Linked DNA regions of Homo sapiens: regions 2, 3 and 4 are each linked to region 1. Evidence: promoter capture Hi-C in 16 types of primary human blood cells and fetal thymus (Javierre and others, 2016). All regions are on one chromosome and are shown on one strand. Each heading gives the region's core, a stretch centred on a gene start or on the middle of the fragment in contact. The rest is flanking DNA. Distances are from core to core; before and after follow the strand shown.

Evidence for each region. Contacts are between HindIII fragments. The CHiCAGO score rates a contact against its expected background, and 5 or more counts as called.
Region 2: a fragment that was not itself captured here is called in contact with the fragment with the promoter of ARHGAP19 in region 1 in 1 of 17 cell types (neutrophils); the score reaches 7.3 in neutrophils.
Region 3: a contact is called between a fragment that was not itself captured here and the fragment with the promoter of ARHGAP19 in region 1, in 1 of 17 cell types (neutrophils). The highest score is 6.9, in neutrophils.
Region 4: a fragment that was not itself captured here is called in contact with the fragment with the promoter of ARHGAP19 in region 1 in 2 of 17 cell types (neutrophils and monocytes); the score reaches 9.4 in neutrophils.

The regions. Positions count from the first base shown.
Region 1 is chr10:97,289,702-97,294,939 of GRCh38, forward strand. ARHGAP19 (Rho GTPase activating protein 19) reads right to left here and starts at 2,936. Exons shown (of 12, transcript NM_032900.6): 1 at 2,871-2,936. The coding sequence starts at 2,926. ARHGAP19-SLIT1 (ARHGAP19-SLIT1 readthrough (NMD candidate)) reads right to left here and starts at 2,972. Exons shown (of 15, transcript NR_037909.1): 1 at 2,871-2,972. RefSeq lists enhancers at 231-989, 1,748-2,506, 2,507-3,263 and a silencer at 2,608-2,657. The HindIII fragment of the contact is 8,887 bases long and covers 1-4,368 here.
Region 2 is chr10:97,682,849-97,688,229 of GRCh38, forward strand. AVPI1 (arginine vasopressin induced 1) reads right to left here and starts at 4,393. Exons shown (of 3, transcript NM_021732.3): 1 at 3,918-4,393. RefSeq lists enhancers at 3,530-4,483, 4,217-5,381, 4,484-5,381 and a silencer at 4,380-4,759. The HindIII fragment of the contact is 3,658 bases long and covers 1-3,282 here.
Region 3 is chr10:97,632,253-97,638,058 of GRCh38, forward strand. MORN4 (MORN repeat containing 4) reads right to left here and starts at 1,248. Exons shown (of 5, transcript NM_178832.4): 1 at 1,095-1,248. RefSeq lists an enhancer at 1,512-1,601. The HindIII fragment of the contact is 4,610 bases long and covers 1-4,474 here.
Region 4 is chr10:97,652,399-97,657,611 of GRCh38, forward strand. It overlaps PI4K2A (phosphatidylinositol 4-kinase type 2 alpha), which reads left to right. Exons shown (of 9, transcript NM_018425.4): 3 at 3,887-4,018; 4 at 4,423-4,576. Among named protein-coding and RNA genes, the nearest start is that of PI4K2A, 14 kb to the left of the region's middle. RefSeq lists an enhancer at 1-147. The HindIII fragment of the contact is 617 bases long and covers 1,572-2,188 here.

The DNA of each region.
Region 1 (5,238 bases), core at 1,686-4,185:
ACACTAGCTGGGCATAGTGGCACGTGCCTGTAGTCCCAACTACTCAGGAGGCTGAGGAGGGAGGACCAGTTGAGCCCAGGAGGTTGAGGCTGCAGGGACCTGTGATCGTATCACTGCACTCCAGCCTGGGCAACAGAAGGAGCCCTGTGTTAAAAAAAAAAAAAAGAAAGAAAGAAAGAAAAGAAAAAGAAAAGAAAAGAAAATAAATTCAAACTACTCTTGCTATGGAATAGTATTTTATTTGTCCTCAGATTTTCACCAAAATTTAGAAATTTTTAAAGAACTGGATGAAGGATGATCTAATCAAATGTATCAATCACCTCTACAGTTCCCGGGCAAAAAAAAAAAATGATCAACCATTTATAGGCAGCTTCAAGAGTGGAAAACTCGGGCAACCCCCTTTGGGTCCCCTCCCTTTGTATGGGAACTCTGTTTTCACTCTATTTCACTCTATTAAATCTTGCAACTGCACTCTTCTGGTCTATGTTTGTTATGGCTGGAGCTGAGCTTTTGCTCGCCCTCTACCACTGCTGTTTGCCGCTGTCGCAGACCCGCCGCTGACTCCCATCCCGCTGCTGACTCCCATCCCTCCGGATCTGGCAGGGTGTCTGCTGTGCTCCTGATCCAGTGAGACTCCCATTGCCACTCCCGATCGTGCTAAAGGCTTGCCATTGTTCCTGCATGGCTAAGTGCCTGGGTTCGTCCTAATCAAGTTGAACACCAGTCACTGGGTTCCACGGTTCTCTTCCGTGACCCACAGCTTCTAATAGAGCTGTAACACTCACCCCATGGCCCAAGATTCCATTCCTTGGAATCGGTGAGGCTGAGAACCCCAGGTCAGAGAACACTAGGCTTGCCACCATCCTGGAAGCGGCCCGCCATCATCTTAGAAGCGGCTGGCCACCATCTTGGGAGCTCTGTGAGCAAGGACCCCCGGTAACATTTTGGTGACCACGAAGGGGCATCCAAAGCGTTTGTCTCTTCCAGAATTGAAACTGTAAAACTACAAATCATTCTTCAAATGGAGCCCCAGATGCAGTCTATGACTAAGATCCACCGCGGACCCCTGGAACAGCCTGCTAGCCCATGCTCCGATGTTAATGACATCGAAGGCAACCCTCCCGAGGAAATCTCAACTGCACAACCCCTACTACGCCCCAATTCAGCAGGAAGCAGTTAGGGCGGTCATCGGCCAATCTCCCCAACAGCACTTGGGTTTTCCTGTTGAGAAGGGGGACTGAGAGACAGGACTAGCTGGATTTCCTAGGCCAACTAAGAATCCCTGAGCCTAGCTGGGAATGTGACCGCATCCACCTTTAAACACGGGGCTTGCAACTTAGCTCACACCCAACCAATCAGAGAGCTCACTAAAATGCTAATTAGGCAAAAACAGGAGGTAAAGAAATAGCCAATCATCTCTTGCCTGAGAGCACAGCGGGAGGGACAAGGATCAGGATATAAACCCAGGCATTAGAGCCAGCAACGGCCACCCACTTTGGGTCCCCTCCCTTTGTGTGGGAGCTGTGTTTTCACTCTATTTCACTCTATGAAATCTTGCAACTGCAAAACAAAAACAAAACAAAACAAAAAAGAGTGGAAAACTCTTCCATATCATATTTTATTTTATTTATTTATTTGAGACATAGTCTTGCTCTGTCACCCAGGGTGGAATGCAATGGCGCATCTGGGCTCACTGCAACCTCCGCCTCAACCTCCTGAGTAGCTGGGACTACAGGCGCCCGCCACCACACCCGGCTAATTATTGTATTTTTAGTAGAGACGGGCTTTCATCATGTTCGCCAGGCTGGTCTCGAACTCCTGATCTCAGGTGATCCGCTCCCCTCGGCTTCCCAAAGTGCTGGGATTACAGGCGTAAGCCACCATGCCCGGCCCCGTATGATATTTTAAATAACACACTCAACCACGCTCATCTGGGCTCAGGAAGAAGCCGAGTCACAAAGTTATTAGTTTCCCAAGATTCTTGGAATCTCTTATTCGGTACAAATGGAACCAAAAGACGCCAAACCGAAGTATTTTACTGAGTTACACTGAGGCAACGTAAATAAACTCAATCTATTGAATTACACCAAAAACAAAATTGTAATCAATTAAGACAACTTAGGTCTCAAGGCTAAGGCAACACCACCTCGAAATTCTCTCCTGAAAACGCTAAATCTCGGTGTGGCTGTTTAGGAAAGAACATCCTGTGGAAATAAAGTCATGATGTCCTGGACTACAGATCCCTCTCCCATCTGCTCCTTAGCTGTTCTACTAGGAAGAAGAAAATCTATTGCGTAGAGTTGTCATTATCGGCTAAACTCAGTGCTAGCTTTAAATGGATTGTCTTATTCAATCTTGACACTTGGAAATAGGCATCCTCACGTCCCTTTGCAGATGAAGAAACTGAAGTCGAGAGAGGTTTAAAAACTGGCCCAAGGACTCAACACTGTTTCTAATTGACACTCAAATCCTTGCTCGGACCTGAACGCACAAAGTGCCTCGGAGAAGATGTGAAGCGCTGTGTGCAACAGTGAGGAATTCGCTAACCAGCCCTGGACTTCCGTTTCCTCGCCATCAAGAGGTGTCTCGGCGCCAAAGCGATCAGCGCTGCCACCCCCAGCTGGACGTCTGCAGCCAGCGCAGCGGGAGGAGCCCCCTCGGGCACCGGCAGGACCGAGCGGGGGGTTTGGCTGGAGTCCAGCGCCCAGGCCCGACCCCCGCGCCTCAGCCCCCGCAGGCGCGACGATGAGAAACGCCGTGGGAGAAAGAAACAAAGCCCGAACCGTGCGCCTCCGTGACCCAAGGCAAAGGCGGCAGGACTACCAGCCCAAGGCCGCGTTTCCCAGGAAACTGGACCAAACTCAGCTCACCTCCGGCCGGATTCGCGGGCTGGCACCTCCCCTTCACTCTGTGCCTCAGTCGCCATCTTCGTCAGCAAACTTCTTTCACCGCCCCACCTTACGTCCCGCCCCCACATATTTGGATTGGCTAATATGTTTTCACCTCTTCCGTGCGATTGGATGACTCGACCGCCCCTCCTCAACCTGAACCGTTTAATATATTATTGGTCTATTCAAATGACTAACCGTCATTGGTCGTTCCCAGCCCTGGCGGAAAAAGAGGGAGGGGCGGGGAAGAAGACCCAGCCCCGAGGCCTGCCGGGAGTTGTAGTTTCTCATTTTGATGAACCCTTCCGATTCCACAGACCTTTAGGTTCAAGTCAGAAATCACCAGCCTATGCTCAAATTTTGTCCTGATATGTAAATCAGGGAATTATAGAACTGTCAACTTTGAAAGTGACTCATCACTTTCTAAAATGCAAGACTCCGTACCCTATATCTCAGCATCACACAATATACCCAGATAACAAACCAACTCATGTACCCCCTAAATTTAAAATAAAAGTTGAAAATAAATAATTTTTTTTTACAATTTTTTTAATTTTTTTTTTCTGTTGAGACAGGGTTTCACCATGTTGCCCAGGCTGGTCTCGAACCCCTGAGCTCAAGCAATCCTCCTATGTCAGCCTCCCAAAGTGCTGGGATTACAGGCATGAGGCACTGCACCCAGCCATAAATTAATTCATTTAATTTAATGTAATTTAATGCAAGACTCGTTCTCTGTCTTGACCCAGAGATAAATCCCTCAAGTGCAGGCAGGGAGTGGCAACCTAGAAGTACTTGCTTTTAAACGTATAGTTCAAAGCCTTCTTTCTTCAGATACTCAGCATAGCCCTAGCCATAGGTCATTTCTTTCTTCCTTTATTTCTTTCTTTTTTTTTTTTTTTTGAGATAAGGTCTCCCTCTGTCTCCCATGCTGGAGCACAGTACAATATTGCAGCATACCAACACACAGGGCAAATTTTTGTACTTTTTGTAGAGATGGGGTTTCACCCTGTTGGCCAGGCTGGAGTCGGTCATTTCTGCTTCAATACATTCACTCCCTTCCAACTTCCCAGAGAACCCACAGAGTTTGCCTTGTGATATGAACCATGGAACCAAAAGCTGCATGACTTTGTCCCAAACTAAACTTTAATCCTCAATGGTAGGAATAACCATAATTATCCTTGTCCTCCCTGCGGCACACACTTCTCCTAGGGATTAACTGAGGCAACATATGTGAGAACATTGTAAATTTTGAGCATTGTTGTTTTTTGTTTTTCCATATTGTTTTCCTATGCTGGACTTTTCTCGGGAATTTCTGTATTGATCCTTCTGATATCCTGCCACCTGGGGCTCTCCCTGCACTCTGCCTCCTTTTTACTAAACTGTACTGCACATGCTTCACTTTCTGAACTGTCTTAGGGCTTTTGCACATGTTGCTTTTTCTGGCTCGTCCATTTTTCCACTTTTTTGGCTTTCAGGTCGAAGCTTAAATGTCACTGGCTCAAAGATCTTCCATGACCCCCATTGTATAAATCAATTCCCTCAGTAAACTTTCACAAAGAACTCTGTACTATTCTTTCACAGTTCATATCACAACTCACAATTACATAGTCATTTGTGTGACTATTTATTTCATGTGAGGGTTCCCAGCTAGGCTTCCTGCCACAAGTGGGCAGAGACTATATTTATTTTGCTCCCCACAGTTTCTGGCACATAATGGCTGTCCAATAAATATTTTTGAAAAATATAAGCAAGTCCTCAAACTATTATATCCAAATAAAAAATCAAATCATATACTCTAATAGATTTTTTTCAATTGATGAATTAATACTAAAAGTTTGATAAGGGCTAGGCACAGTGGCCTACACCCATAATCCCATCACTTTTGGAGGCTGAGGCAGGAGGATCACCTGGGCCCAGGAGTTCAAGGTTAAAGTGAGCTATGATTGTGCCACTGAACTCCAGGCTGTGCGACAGAATGAGACCCTTTCTCTAAAAAAGAAAATAAAAGTTTGATAAATGTGTCCAAATAAAATTGCATTTAGTTTGATGTTTTTTATGTTTTTTGTTTGAAACAGAGTCTCACTCTGTTGCCTAGGATGGAGTGTAGTGGCATGGTCTCCACTCACTGCAACCTCTGCCTCCCGAGTTCAAGCAATTCTCCAGCCTCAGACACTCAAGTAGCTGGGATTACAGGTGTGTGCCACCACATCTGGCTAATTTTTGTATTTGAGTAGAGATGGGTTTTGCCACGTTGGCCAGACTGGTCTCGAACTCCTGAACTCAAGTGATCTACCCACCTAGGCTTCCCAAAGTGCTGGGACTACAGGTGTGAGCCACCATGCCCAGTCTT
Region 2 (5,381 bases), core at 204-2,703, 390 kb after region 1:
AAAATCCAGTTAAAACCTAATCTATATGGTAATTAAGCCCCCAGAGCTGGATGACATAAACACACTGTGACAAGAAGACAACAGTCGCCAAGTAACACTTTTAGGCTGATAAAAAGAAAAGCTAACTATGGGATATTTACTCTGGATCAGGCAATACGTATGATATCCTTTAATCCTCAAAACAATTCTAGGAGTTAGGGACTGTTATCCCATTTCACAGGGAAGTAAAGGGAAGCTAAGATGCAAATATGAGTACCAGTGGCTTAGCCGAGGCCAGAGGTGGTTCAAATGACTGCAGCCCATGCTTTTATTTTTATTTTTTTTTTGAGAGTGAGTTTTGCTCTTGTTGTCCAGGTTGGAGTGCAGTGTTGCAATCTCAGCTCACTGCAACCTCTACCTCCTGAGTTCAAGTGATTCTCCTGCCTCAGCCTCCCGAATAGCTGGGATTACAGGCGTCCCCCACCACTCCCGACTAATTTTTTGTATTTTTAGTAAAGACAGGGTTTCACCATGTTGGTCAGGCTGGTCTTGAACTCCTGACCTCAGGTGATCCACCCGCCTTGGCCTCCCAAAGTGTTGTGATTACAGGTGTGAGCCACTGCGCCCGGTCAGCCCACGCTTTTAAACCCCCGAGCTGGCTTCACAGCCAGGCAGCTTAAAGAACACTTCACATTTCTATGAAGAATGCTTTCCTATTCCCACCTAATTCATGAAGGGGAAATCCTACCAATGGAAAGGGAAGGACAATGAATTATCCCACCTGGTGGAGGCAGGGGTGGAGCTGTGGAATTTCGTTAGTCTGTTCTCTAGGGTCAGGGCTCTTTCCTGGGTGACAGCCCAGCCTTGAGCCGTAGCACTCTAAAGAGGAAGAGCCCAGCTTCCACAGAAGAAATCAAGAACTGCAACCCAGCCCAGTGCACAGAGCCCTGGCTTACGAGTCAGAGGAGTCGGTTCAAGCCCTACTTCTGCCACTCACTGGCTGAAAAACCTCAGGCAATTCACATCCCCTCTGTGGGTCAGCTTCCCTGTTACTGCTATAAGAACAGCTTGATGCTGTTTGTTTCTGAGGGCCTGCACCAGTGCTGAGAGTCAACAATTCCACCCGCAGGTAAGTCTGTACAGAAGGAGGAACGGAGCTACTTGTCTGCCAAAGCCTAGGGGCAATGTGTGGACAGGTCTGGCTAACTGGGTGCTAGGAAATTCCCCAGCCAGTAGCTCCCTTTCTCCTCCCTACTCTATGTTGTTTTGCTGCAGTGGGCCCTGGGGTTAGCATCTGGTAGAAAACAGAACTCACAGCTCTAAAGCTCCCTAGTGACCTCAGCTGGCAATGACCAAGCCCGGGGCAGACGCCTAGGCAGGTCTGGGGTAGTAGGAGAAAGGGTGATATCTGGCCTCACCTCCCCAGGAAAAGAAGGGCAATAAGGATCATGTAGCAGCAGCTGCCTCGGGGAGGAAATGGCTTGGAGCCTGACTTCCCAACAACCTCTCCCAGGATGGCAAGGCTTTGACTCCACAGCTTCAGCGAGCTGCGAGTCACAAACATACCAAGAAACCCTCAGGGAGAGTCTGAGCCTCCAGCCTCAACCCTCCTTGAACCTTAGGGAGGGCCTAGCACCTCCAGATTTTGAGGCCCCTCACTCTTTTTACTCTTTTTTTTTTTTTTTTTTGAGGCGGAGTCTCACTCTGTCACCCACGCTGGAGTGCAGTGGCGCAATCTCAGCTCACTGCAACCTCTGCCTCCAAGGTTCAAGCAATTTTCTTGCCTCAACAACCTCCCAAGTAGCTGGGATTACAGGTGCCCACCACACGCCCGACTAATTTTTGTATTTTTAGTAGAGACAAGGTTTCACCATGTTGGCCAGGCTGGTCTTGAACTCCCGACCTCAAGTGATCCACCCACCTCATCCTCCCAGAGTGTTGGGATTATAGGCGTGAGCCACCATGACCGGCCAAGCCCCTCACTCTTGGCTCTGTCTCTTATTCTGGGATTCAGACAGCAGAGTGAGGCTGGGAATAAAACTAGGCTGATTCCAGGTAGGATTAGATGGTTAAGTTTTGGGAAAACCGATGAAATGTCGAATCAGAACACTTTTATTATCAAAGGAAACTTTTCCTGTCTCATTCCATGTGTTCAATAGTTATTTTCCCTCCAATTTCCTGGAGAAGACCTTAGTCCAGGAAAAGTCAGTGTATACTTGCACAATAGTACTTTTGAAAACTAGAAAATGAAACCATGGGGCTATTAAAAGATTACAAATGGACCTTTCATTTCAGAACTGACATAAAAGAAGGTAAGTATGGGTCTGTGTACAAACGAGTAAAGACCAATTGCAAAATACTTCAATTTGACACAAACTAGGTTGAAAGTGAACCCCAAAGGAAATACCAAACATTGAAAATGACAAAGTTCAACTTGTTTTGAAACAGGCAATAAGTGAAGAACTGTGGAACCCTAACAAAGAAATATATTTAAAAAGTGACTCACCATGCAATGAATTTGCAATATATAAATATGGCGCGCAATTGAGCACTCTTTGCAATATATGAAGTTCAGTTCAGACAGCTATTCTAGGAGAGTATCTCACTGCAGTCCCAGGGAGGCACAGGTAACCACCAGAGGCAGAACACATTTGGGTGAGCTGGCAACTCCTAGGTCCTCATGCAGGAGGAGGCCCCCTTCCAATAACCCAGGTGATAGCAATAATCTCTGTAATCAGGGGCCTAGGGGCTCTTAGAAAAATTACTGGAGGCTCTGGCCCAAGGCCTGAATCAACACTTGGGACCCTGGCCTGCTATCCTATACAGACATGCCACTGGACAGCAGCCAAAATCTGTGGCTCCTCAAATGGGAAGCCCAGTTCAAATCGCTGTGTGGGCTTCCCCACCAGCAGGGCCTAGCCTCAGGGAGGTATGCCGAGACAACTGGATATACATTGGCCTCCAAATCCATGCCCCTGGAGGTGGAGAAAGGAACTGGGCCCTTTCCCCAGACCAGTTCTCATATATGACCTGGAAATAAACTGCTACTAGATCTAGGGATAACCCTTTCAAGATTTCTAGAACCCTGAATTCTGGCTGTGCTGCTAACTGGGTGACCTTGGATAAGTCTCAGTTTCCCCTGCCACAAGTTGCTCGTCATCAAAATAGTATAAGGCCAGGCCTGGTGGCTCACGCCTGTAATCCCAGCACTTTGGGAGGCTGAGGTGGGAGGATTGCTTGAGCCCAGGAGTTCCAGACCAGCCTGGTCAACATAGCAAGACTGCCTCTATAAAATTTTAAATAAGCTTTTTAAAATAAATGGTGAGTATAAATAACTCTTAACAGGAAAAGGGAGATTAAGTTTGTGACGGCATTCCTTCTAGTACCTGGTATACCACAGACATTCTATGCATGCTGGTTGAATGAATAAATGATGAAGGGAAAGGCTGTTTGACTACCAGGGGCTATAGAATCATTGTCATTTTCATCATCACAGCCATCAACAAATCTGTGTACTTTTAAATCATAGCTTTATGATTAAAATCATAGAGGCAGCTTGTTCAGTGTCAAGCGCAGAACAGAGCACGTTCAGATGGGTGCTTTCTTTCCTCCTCACTTAAGGTGGCACTATTGTTATACCCATTTTACAGATGAGAAAGCTACACCCAAAGTCACACAGCTGGCAGGTGATGGAAGCTGGGACATGAACCCAGGCAGTCTGACCCCAGCACCCGGGCTCTCAAGCCACTGTTATTTTTGTTCCTGCCAGATGGCTGAGGAGGTCTTCTGGGGAAGGTCGGTCCCAGAAGCCTTTCGGAGGCTATCTGCTTCTGTAGATTGTGGAAGGAGCAGGGAGGGATCCAAAGTCAGGACTCCCAAGCTAGCCTCTGTACCCTCTGCACTCCACTGCCCGGTGGAGAATTGGAGCAGGTACTCACCACACTGAAGGGCAGCTCCGACAGACCTCAAATGGGGATGGGGCAAGCTAAGATGCGCCCACTCCAACCTCTTCCACAGCCTTCAGAAAGGGCAGGCGCAGCTCTGCGAAGGTGCTTACAAGGGCCAGTCGGTGATCACGGGCAGCACAAGAGCATGGCAGAGGGTATCCTGGCCGAGGTCCTAAGGCGACATCTGCAGCACGAGGAGGCCCCGGGACTCAGACGTGGCCGCTTCGCAGAACGACGGGGTCCTAAGTGGATCTGGCGGTCGCGTCCCGCTGGCACCCCGGCTCTGACTGTCGCCCTCCGGCTCCCACCGCAGCGCCGAGCTGGGCCGCCGACCTACGTACCTGGTTGCTTGAGGCAGGCCGCACGCAGCCCCAAACTGGTCCGGGCCACTTGGGTCACAGCCGCGGTTCCCGGGAGAAAGCGCTCCCTAGCCCCGGAACAGCCAATCCTCGGCCCTAGCCAGGTATGAGCTCCCAGGCGAGCCTTCCAAACCCAAGGCGGAGTTCCGTGCGCCAATCATCGGTGGGAGACAGGGAGGGGGCGTGTCCATCCCCGCCCCCCGCCTCCGCTGGCCTCGAAAGCGGAGTGCGAAGCTTCCTCAAACCTAATCGGCGGCGGAGCGGCGGTGAGGGGGCGTGTCTGCCCGGGCCCTGCCCACCGCCCTCTCCGCCCCCGCGCGGCGCCCGAGGCGCCCCCTTCATTGACGTCAGTCCCCAGGGCCAGCGCGGTTTTGCTGGCGCGGGAGCTGGGCGGGGCTGCATTCCTGCCCCAGGGTGCGGCGAAAGCTGGCCCTGCCGGGTACACGTGACGGATGCCCCTTCTCCTGGGCCCGAGGCCAGCGCGCGCGGCACTGACTGCCTTGCAGCGCGTGGCCCTCTGCAGATCCTCAGACTCTGCCGCTCAAGTCCCCTCCCAGCCCACCGTTTGGCTCCGGCTTTGAGGGAGAGGAGGGGGCAGTCTGCTGGAGTCAGACCTTGGGCTTCAAAGCCAGAATGTCGTGGGTTCAAATATTGGGTCATTTGTGCGACTTTGGGCCGGTTACCTAAACAAGACCGTATTTTAAAGTTTGTATGCATTCGGAAATGTTCATTAGTGACCTATGCTGTCCGAGTTCCTTGATAGGCCGTAAACAAGAGAGACGGAAAGACCTATAGCCCTTGTCCTGGGGAGTCTACAGCCTAGTAAGGGAGGCAGGCATTAAACAACCTAAAACATGGAGTATGTGATTACAGTTGTGATCAATGTTATGGCTATAAGAGGATAAATATGGAGGAACCTAAGCTTCCTCTGGGAGGTTCAGGAGGGCTGAAGAAGCAGCATTTAAGCTGAGATATAAAGAAGGAGTTGAAACTGGTCAAATGAAGAGGAGTGGATCTGGGGAGACTGCTTTAAGGAAAGAGGGAAAGGCATTTGGTTGGGCCAGGAGGTAGCTTGGCTCCGGAGGAATTAAATGCG
Region 3 (5,806 bases), core at 920-3,419, 340 kb after region 1:
CTGTCCCCCATGCTGGAGTGCAGTGGCAGGATCTTGGCTCACTGCAACCGCCGCCTCCCAGGTTCAAGCAATTCTCCTGCCTCAGCCTCCTGGGTAGTTGGGATTACAGGCACGTGCCACCATGCTTGGCTAATTTTTGTATTTTTAGTAGAGACGAGGTTTCACCATCTTGGCCAAGCTAGTTTTGAACTCCTGACTTCGTGATCCACCCGCCTCGGCCTCCCAAAGTGTTGGGATTACAGGCGTGAGCCACCGCGCCCGGCCTAAATATTTTTTTTTAAGTGTTTTAAAAGGAGCTCGAAATAACTGTTTTTCATTATAAGTCTAACCTCCTCTTTCCTCATGTGAAAAGTAAAGAAATGTATCGTTGCTATATGAAGGGTTCGTTTAGGGAAGACTGTGGGATGGTTAGATTGAAGAAAGTGGGAAGAAAATACTGGCGCCAAAAAGATTTTTTTTTTTTTTTATTTAAAGGCGATGATGACCTGGGGGTGATTGGGACTAGGGAGTAATACTGCCAGAATACTATCCTATTTCACGGGAAAGGGAATGCCAGGGCTGGACTCCGATATAGCAGTTATTCCTGCTGGTACCTAAGCAGTTCAGAGATGCTAGAATGCAGGGATACCACCCATCAACTAAATGAAGCATCCCATTCCCCAGGCTTCCATATGTGGGAGTTCTCTCCACCAGTGAGATAAAGGCGGGCTCAGGGAAAACAAAGCCCTAGACCACAACAAGGCAACACCTTCTCGCACCCCATTTTCACCTTCCAGGCGCGTTCCTTCCTGCTATCCGGGCCCGCTCTCCCGCCCGGCAGGGTCTAACGCTCACACAGGTCTGCCAATTCCCCTGATGCAACCCTCCACCCTCTGCTCGCTAACCCCAGTCCAGTCAGCTCTCCCGGGCCTCGACCCCCGCGGTGGAGACTAAAGGGTTCAGGTTTGGGTCCCCCACAGGCAACCGCCCTCAGGTCAGCGTATCCGAGGTGGAGCCGCGCCCCCGAGCCGGGTCATCTCGTGCTCCGTTCCTCAGTGCCCACCTGACCGATCACACTCTTTCCCGGCCCCCTCCCTCCTGCGCCTCCAGCCAACCTGGGGCCGGCCTTTCGGGATGACCGTCACGCCTGGACGCAGGGTTCCAGCGCCTCGGACTTTTCCTCTGATGGGCTCCCGGCTGCCACCTTGCTCTCCGCCACCTCCACCAGCGATTGCCCCACTTGACGCCGCCATCCTGGGCGACCGCACTGGGTACAATTCCCGCTGCCCATTGGCTGTTACCTAGGCAACCGGGAGCAACGCCACTCCGCATTGGCCCAGCCCGGCTCCACGCCATCTTTGTGCGGGGCCGAGTGTTTGCGAACCCGGGCTGACTATGTGAAAGAGGGGTGGTCCCACCTCTGCAACGCAGATAAAGACAGAGGATCCAGATCTGGCCTACCCAGAGGCCGTCTAGTTGAAATGGCAACCCCAAAGAAAACCAAACCTGCGCCCGAAGCAACAGTGACCATCAACGCGAGCGGCTCTGATCTTGCTCCAGTCCCCACTGCTGTCAAGGGCCCCGCCGCGGAGTTTAAGGCAGATCCTAAATCCAGCTTCAGAGAGGCAGCTTTGTAAATTGTAACGCGCTAGGCAGGATAGCCTCCAATAACTCTGTGCTAGACATTGTGATATCAAGACACTTTTGCATTCATTATAGGAATTTGTGCTGTCCTTGTCATTATCTAGATCCTTTTTGTTTAAAATATAGTACCTGGCCAGGCGCAGTGGCTCACATCTGTAATCCCAGCACTTCGGGAGGCCGCGGCTTGAGCTCAGGAGTGCGGGAGGCTTGAGCCCAAGAGTTCTAGATCAGCCTGGGCAACGCAGGGAGACTCCGTATCTACAGAAGAAAAAAATTACCCAGCCTAGTGGTGGGTGCCTGTAGTCACAGCTACTCAGGAGGCTGAGGTGGGAGGATCCCTTGAGCCCAGGAGGTTGAGGCTGCAATAAGCCATGATTCTGCCACTGTACCCCAGCCTGGGCGACCTAGCAAGACCCTGTCTCAAATAAATAAATTGCAAACCAAAAAGTATCTGAGACAGGTCTCAATCAATTTAGGAGTTTATTTTGCCAATGTTAAGGACATGCCCGTGACACAGCCTTAGAAGGTCCTAAGAATGTGTGTCCAAAATAGTCGGGACACCACTTGATTTTATACATTTTAGGGAGACGTAAGACATCAATCAATACATGTAAAATATACATTGGCTTGGTCCCGAAAGTGGGGGTGGGGGTGGCAAGTTCCAGGATGTAGGTGGATTCAAAGATGTCCTGATTGACAATTGGTTGAAAGAGTTTAAAGACCTGGAACCCACAGAAGGGAATGTCTGGGTTAAGTTAAGGAATTGTTACTAAGATATGCACGCACACACACACACACACACACACACACACACACACAAGGAATTGTGGAAATCAAGGTTTTTATTATGCAGAGAAGGCTACAGGTAGCAGGCTCCAGAGAGCATAGATTGTAAATGTTTCTTTATTTTTTTTTTTGTTTTGAGACAGGGTCTCCCTCTGTCACCCAGTCTGGAGTGCAGTAGCTGGATCACGGCTTACTGCAGCCTTGACCTCCCAGGCTCAAGTTATCCTCCCACCTCAGCCTCCTAAGTAGCTGAGACTACTGGTTCATTCCACTATGCCTGGCTTATTTTTGTATTTTTTGTAGAGATGGTGTTTTGTCATGTTGCCCAGGCTGGTATTGAACTCCTGGGCTCAAGTGATCCTCCCATCTCTGCCTCCCAAAGTGCTAGGATTACACGTGTGAGCCACCAAGGCTGGCCAGTGTTTATTATCAGATTTAGAAAGGTATCAGACTCTTAGTTAGTTCTCCCCTGGATCAGGAAAAAGACCTGGAAAGGGAAGGGGATTTTCTACAGAATGTAGATTTTCACCATAAAAGACACCTTTGCCTGCTATCATGACAGATGGGGCCTGCTATCTGTCAATGTTGGTATCATTGCTACAAAGAGTCTGCTGTGTCAACCTTAAGATCTCTGCTTTAATGTTAAATGCTGGTCCTGAATTCCAAAAGCAGGAGAAAATAATGAGGCATGTCTGACTCCCACTTCTCATCATGGCCTCAAATAGTTTTTCAGGTTAATTTAGGAATGCCCTTGGCCCAGAAGAGGAGGCCATTCATTTGATTGGGGGGCTTATAATTTTATTTCTGGTTCACTAGATAAATAAATAAATAAATAAAATATAGTGCCAAGATTGGAGCAAATCTTCCCAAATACCACTCACATCAATCTGTGTATCCATATGTTTATTTCTTAAACAATGTGAGTACAGCATGATGCTAGGTTCTGTCAGGCTTGAAAAGCCATGATTGTTACTCTTATGGCCTTTATAATTAGCTGAGTGTGGTGACAAGTGCCTGTGGTGCCAGCACTCGGGAGGTTAAGGCAAGAGAACTGCTTGAGCCTGGTTAACAGAGACCCTGTCTCAAAACATAAATAAATAAATAAATAAATAAATAAATAAATAAATAAATAAATAAAATGTAGTTTCTTGGCCAGGGGAATGACACACTACAAGCAGTATTTTATGAAAATTAATCTGACAGTGACACTCAGAGATGACCAGTGAGAGATTGGAAGCAAAGTAACAAACTCAGAAGTTATTGTAATAATGCAACTAACACATCCTGGAAGTTTCATGTAGCATCAGTGGAGATGAAAGAAAGGGGGTAAATATGAGACATATTTCATAGGGATATTTAATAAGAATCAACATAGTGTTAAGAGCATGGAAACAGTCTGCCTGGATTTGGATCCGGCTCTGCCATTTACCAGCTGAATGACCATGGGCACATTACCTTTACCTCCCTGGGTCTGGGTTTCCAACATCACAGGATACTATAAAGCTGGTTCCATGAGTTAATCCATGTAATGCATTTAAAACAATGTCTAGGCCGGGTGTGGTGGCTCATGCCTGTAATCCCAGCACTTTGGGAGGCCGAGGTGGGCGGATCATGAGGTCAACAGATCGAGACCATCCTGGCCAACATGGTGAAACCCCGTCTCTACTGAAAAATACAAAAATTAGCCGGATGTGGTGGCCCGCGCCTGTAGTCCCAGCTACTCAGGAGGCTGAGGCAGGAGAATCGCTTGAACCCGGGAGGCGGAGGTTGCGGTGAGCTGAGATTGCACAACTGCACTCCAGCCTGAGTGACAGAGCCGGCTAATTTTTGTATTTTTAGTAGAGACAGGGTTTCACCATCTTGACCAGGCTGGTCTCGAACTCCTGACCTCGTGATCCACCCGCTTCGGCCTCCCAAAGTGCTGGGATTACAGGCGTGAGCCACTGTGCCTGGCCAAAAAATTTTTTTAGATAAAATAAAAGACTCTGAGGGGTTTCTGTGGAGAAAAAACTCAGAATTCCAGGGAGAACTCTAAATCTGGGACCTTTCCTTTACCATAATTTGAAGCTTATGGGCTAAATGAGATGAATGATACCAAAAGATTATCTATGTGGCTACAGACCCTGGGCCACAAGAGCCAGGCATCAGTTGATTATTGAGGTCTAGATAGGAAAAGGAAGTGCATGTATTATAACTGAAAGGGGCAATTTAACCTTCTGTACGACTTTTGTTTAGAATGGTTTGTCTGGCCAAAAATGTTTAAGACATTCCCATACATATAATTAAACAATAGTGCTTTCAATTTGGTATTTCTAGTTAGCAGTGGCAATAATTTGATTCAAGAAAGAATGATTATGAAATATTGGTGACTATGTGACTGGCCATGATTCGTGAAAGCCCATACCTCTAGTCTGCTGGTGACTTTAAGCATAAAAACAAAAACAACATCAACAGTAACATCAGCAGTGATTTTTTTTCAAAAAGCTACCATATGTTGAGTGCTCTTTATGTACAAAACACTATGCTAAGTGCTTTATTTTTATTTTTCCTATTAGAGAGTCATGCTTCATATGCTAAGTGCTTTACATAACATTATATTGATTCTTGATTCAGTAATCATGGGGATGATTATTCCCATTTTATAGATTAAGGAACTGAGGCTTAGAGAGGTTATATAACTTGTCTAAAACAACTGATCATCATGGAGACTGGATTCAAACTCAAATGTCTCTGATTTCCAAGCCCATGCTTCCAACCATTACATTTTACACTTTTTTTTTGAAACGGAGTCTGGCCCTGTTGCCTAGGCTGGAGTGCAATGGCACGATCTCAGCTCACTGCAACCTCCACCTCCCAGGTTCAAGCGACTCGCCTGCCCCAGCCTCCGTAGTACCTGGGATTACAGGCGCCTGCCACCATGCCTGGCTAATTTTTTGTAGTAGAGACGAGGTTTCACCATGTTGGACAGGCTGGTCTCAAACTCCTGACCTTGTGATCCACCCGCCTTGGTCTCCCCTAGGATTACAGGTGTGAGCCACCAAGCCTGGATGTACATTCTACACTTTTGAAGGTAGTGTTTGCATACATTTTTTTTTGAGACGGATTCTTGTTCTGTCGCCTAGGCTGGAGTGCAGGGGTACGATCTCAGCTCACTGCAACCTCCACCTCCCAGGTTCAAGCGATTCTCACACCTCAGCCTCCCAAATAGCTGGGATCATAGGCGTGTGCCACCAAGCCCAGCTAATTTTTTTTTTTTTTTTGTATTTTTAGTAGAGACAGGGTTTCGCCATGTTGGCCAGGCTGGTCTTGAACTCCTGACCTCAGGTGATCCACCCGCCTCAGCCTCCCAGAGTGCTAGGATTATAGGCGTGAGCCATCGTACCTGGCTTGTTTGTAT
Region 4 (5,213 bases), core at 630-3,129, 360 kb after region 1:
AGTCCTCCCACCTCAGCCTCTCAGGTTGGGACTACGGGCATGTGCCACCATGCCTGGCTAATTTTTTTTTTTTTTAATTTTTTGTAGAGACAAGGTCTCCCTGTTTTGCCCAGGCTGGTCTTGAACTCCTGGGCTCAAGCTATCCTCCTGCCTTGGCCTCCCAAAGTGCTGGGATTACAAGTGTGAGCCACCACACCCAGCCTTAAAGATGTCTTCTCAGGTTTAGATAGCAGATTCTATGAGCAAAGAGATTGATCAGCAGTAGAAACTTCCCTTCCGTTTGAGAGGAAAATGTGACTATTGTGGATATTTAACCATGTCTGCTCCTTTGCTACTAAACTCCAAACAATTAGCCAACTAGTTTGTAAGTTATAGAAGTCAGAGACCACTTCTCAAGATTTCCTCTCTCATTCTCAGCACCTAGCAAAATACTATATTTATAGTAAGCATTCATGAAGTACCAGCTGAGTCAGTAAATGAATATGAAATCATGAGAAACAATACCAAAGTTCTTCCAACTTTAGGTCTAGCGAGAAAATGTTTGACCAGGCTTCTAGTTCCCATTTCACATCTAATTCACTGCCTGGCTTTGTACAGCTCATTCCTTCTCTTTATGCCTTACTTTTCCCTCTCTGTGCAGATAGTTTTACAGCATGCTTTGAACATCTTGTATGATAATTAATGTTCTTAAGTCTCCTAACCTGAAATGCTTCTACTAGGCTCCTCTTAGACTCTAGAAACTTTTACATTCTCCTTGCTTATCACTCTATAGTTTTCTTCCTTTACTAGGCAAATAGCAGACCGTGTCTGGCTCTATGCCTACCTGCTCTGTTGGTGCTTCTGGAGTGTGGTGCCCAAGAATCAGAGGACTTGAGTTTGAATTCTTGCTCTGCAGTTTTTGATTTGTGTAACACTTGGGCAAGTCATGTAACCTCCCTAGGCTCAGTTTCCTTACTGTAAAAATAGGGATATAAATAGTTCCTACTTTGTAGAGTGGCCATCAATATTACACAAGACAGCCTATATGAAGCACATAGCTGAGTGAGTGCCAGGCACAACGTAAACCCTCCATATGTTAGCCTGTGATATTTTTATCAGCTATTCTAATCGTTAGTGTCACCCCCACAATCCCTTTCGTCCCTATCTTTGGTCTTCCTCTTTCCCTGTTAGAGAACCTTCACGAGGCCTGAGGATCTTTTGCATCAGAAAGTCAGCAACAACAAAAATACTTGTCTTGGCTGGGCTCATTGGCTCACGCCTGTAATCCCAGCACTTTGGGAGGCCTAAGTGGGTGGATCACCTCAGGTCAGGAGTTCGAGACCAGCCTGGCCAACAGGGTGAAACCCTGTCTCTACTAAAAATACAAAACTTAGCTGAGCATGGTGGTGCGTGCCTGTAATCCCAGCTACTTGGGAGGCTGAGGCAGGAGAATCGCTTGAACCTGGAAGGCAGAGGTTGCAGTGAGCTGAGATTGTGCCACCACACTCTATCCTGGGCAACAGAGCGAGACTCCGTCTCAAAAAAAAAAAATACTTGTCTTCCATGAGACTGAGATGAGACAGAACTTTGGAAGCTTAACATATAGCTGCTGGAGAATAGTAAGAGGACTCCTCTCCCTGTCTCCCCAACTCTTGTGACAGGACTCTATCCAGTTGATCAGAGCATCTGTCATTATAGAAACAAGGTTCACATTGCATTGGAACTTCAAATGGTAAGGCTCTAATTCTCACTCACTGGCTGTCTCTGCTCTCTGCTCCTATGAGGTTTCAGGTTATGATAGTTTCATTAGTCATGGGGAAAAAGTGGTTTGTTAGGAAGAATGATAGAAAATAAATATGATGGGGGCAAAAGGGGATTTATGGCTTGAGAGAGCCAGGAGTTTCACTGTGGACACTGGCAAGGTAGCCTTAGGAAAGCTCTTTTTCCTTCATTCCTATGCCTGAGTTTTCTGATTTGTAAGGCAGGGAGTGCCTACTACAGTACCATGCACATCCATTTTAGGTAGTCTATTAATACTAGATGGTAGCATGGAGCGATAGATGAGAGGCAGTTATTTTGCCTCTCAGGTTCATGGGAAAAAAAATAGTTATTTGTAATAAATTTTACAAGGCTTAGGAAAATACCTTTCTTATAAGTTTGATTTTAGGTATTTATATGCTAAAACTCACTTGTTGCTGTCTCTGAAAGAAGCTTGTAACTCATTCTTCATTCACTTAATAAATATTTAATGAGCATATGCCAGCTACTGTGTTAGGTGCTGTGGATGCTAATATAAATAAGATGTTCTCCGCTTCCTCAAATCTCATTCATTTTAAAGGAGGAGTTAGATATACAAATGGATAATTACAAGACAATGTGATAAGTGTGACAATAGATGCATATGTGGATTACAATTACGTCACTGCAATTTGACTTAAGTATAATATTGATGGCTCATAAAAATTTTTTTTAGAATAAGTAATGCATGCATCTAGTATAAAAATCAGAAGGCACATAGGGTAAACAGAGAAAAGTAATTCAGACTCCCTGCTACCCCTATCTCCTGGCCATTCAGTTTCCTTCCTCAGAGGCAGCCAGGATTACAGTGTATAGCCTATACATAAAAATAGCAGTTAATTAAAATGAAAACCAATTTTAATGTTTGTGTTTTGAATACGAATAATTTCACAAAGTAAAAAAATTCAAAAGGGCCCGGGCACAGTGGCTCATGCCTGTAATCCCAGCACTTTGGGAGGCCGAGGTAGGAGGATCACCTGAGGTCAGGAGATCAAGACCAGCCTGGCCAACATGGTGAAACCCTCTCTCTACTAAAAATACAAAAATTAGCCAGGAGTGGTGGCACACACCTGTAATCCCAGCTACTTGGGAGGCTGAGGCATGAGAATTGCTTGAATGCGGGACTTGGAGGTTGCAGTGAGCCGAGACTGTGCCACTGCACTCCAGCCTGGGCAACAGAGTGAGACTCTGTCTCAAAAAAAAAAAAAAAAAAAAATTTTTTTTCAAAAGGAAATGAAGGGGTACAGAGTAAATTGCAACTTGTTTGTCTCTGGAAAGAAGATGGGCATTTGGCCTAATCTAACCCAGGAGATGACAGTGTTAATCCTTGTACTTCATACTAGCTGCTGTAACAACCCTTAAATCTAAGTGGTTTAATACAATTGGATTGTATTTCTTTTTTATCATATTTTTTTTGGGACAGAGTCTCCCTCTGTCACCCAGGATAGAATGTGCAGTGGTGCGATCTTGGCTCACTGCAACCTCTGCCTCCAAGGTTCAAGCCATCCTCCCACCTCAGCCTCCGAAGTATCTAGGATTACAGACGTGCACCACCATGCCTGGCTAATTTTTGTATTTTTAGTAGAGACGGGGTTTAACCATGTTGGCCAGGCTGGTCTCGAACTCCTGACCTCAAGTGATCTGCCCACCTCGGCCTCTCAGAGTGCTGGGTTTACAGGTGTGAGCCACCACGCCTGGCCAGGAGTGTATTTCTTGATTACATCTCAGACTCATGCCAGATAGGCAGCTCTCCTAGATACCACATCACTCATGTAGTTACAAGGTATCCGAGGTTCTTCCATGGTGTGGCTCTGCTATTTCCCAGCCCTTCTTTCCTAGCTGCACAGACTGGAGAATGTGAATTAAGGATTGTGGGAGATTTTAGTTGCCAGCAGTGGAAGTGTTGTACATACATAATTTTGTCATTATTTCATTGGCCCAAACTAGTTATCTTCCCTCTCCTAGTTGCTGGGAAGGCTGAGAAATGTATTCTTTCTGTGCCCTGGAAGAGGAATAGGATTTGTGAACATCAAGCTATTTATTCTCTGCCATAGTCTTCTGGTTCCTTAAACTTGACTCTAACCTTAGTATCTCTTCTCTTTCACTGTAGGTAGTATACCTGGCCAGTGAGACCTTCAACTATAGTGCCATTGACCGAGTGAAGTCCAGGGGCAAGCGGCTTGCACTAGAGAAAGTGCCAAAAGTTGGACAGCGGTTTAACCGCATCGGGCTACCACCAAAGGTATAGACGCACCTCTGGCTTATCAAGGGTCATGATTTATAGTGACATAGTCATCCAAGTGGTGAAGCAAGGTGCCTACAACTCAAATATGGGCACGTGAATAACCTGCCCTGAGGATCCTGTCTTCCTTATTTCTGTCAAGTGGCTAAGGTTTGAAAAGTTGAGACCTAACTTTTCACTTTACTCCTCTGGTTCATTTGGATAGGTTCTTTAATTTGGATGGATGATCACTGTTACATCTCTTTTCTCCTGTACTTGCAAGAAATGAGGAAGTAAAGATCTTGAAAAGTTTTCCTTCTCTGATACAAACTCCATAGGGCCTTAATGGGTATCTGGCATATACTCCAAAGGTCTTTGGATTTGGGCAGTAGGGAAAAACCTTTGTTCCTTCCTCTTGGTTCCAGGTTGGTTCATTCCAGCTCTTTGTTGAAGGCTACAAAGATGCAGACTATTGGCTGCGGCGTTTTGAAGCAGAACCTCTTCCTGAGAACACTAACCGGCAACTACTGCTCCAGTTTGAGCGGTTGGTGGTGCTGGATTACATCATCCGCAACACTGGTGAGCAGCTGCAGGTGGTCCCATGCCCTGTGCCAGACTGTGTTGAGGCATGGGGAGGCCTGGAGGCTTGCAGGGCTTGGGAGTCAGAGTACCTTGTCCAGACACATCATGTGTAGTTTTCAGAAGTGGTGAGGCCTGGAGTTAGTATTTGCATTTTATCTTACACTCTTTCCTGGTTCCAGACAGAAGACACTTAACTCTTCCAAAGCACTGTGAAGAGTACTCTTATCCTTGATCCCTAGTCATTCTTGTAGCCTCAAGACCTGTAACAGGACAGTTTTGTCTTCCTCTGACTTCTTGAGGTAGATGTTTAGATCATTGATATTTAAAAAAAATTTTTTTTCAGTGCAATTTAAATTCAACTAACCTGGTAAAATGTACATGTATTGAGGACAAAAGTCTTTAAATTCAGGCTGGATGTGGTGGCTCATGCGTGTACTCCCAGCACTTTGGGAGGCCAAGGTGGACAGATCATTTGAGGCCGGGAGTTCCAGACCAGCCTGGACAACATGGTGAAACCCTGTCTCTACTAAAAATACAAAAATTAGCCGGGTGTGGTGGCGGGCACCTGTAGTCCCAGCTATTCAGGAGGCTGAGGTGGGAGAATCGCTTGAACCTGGGAGGCGGAGGTTGCAGT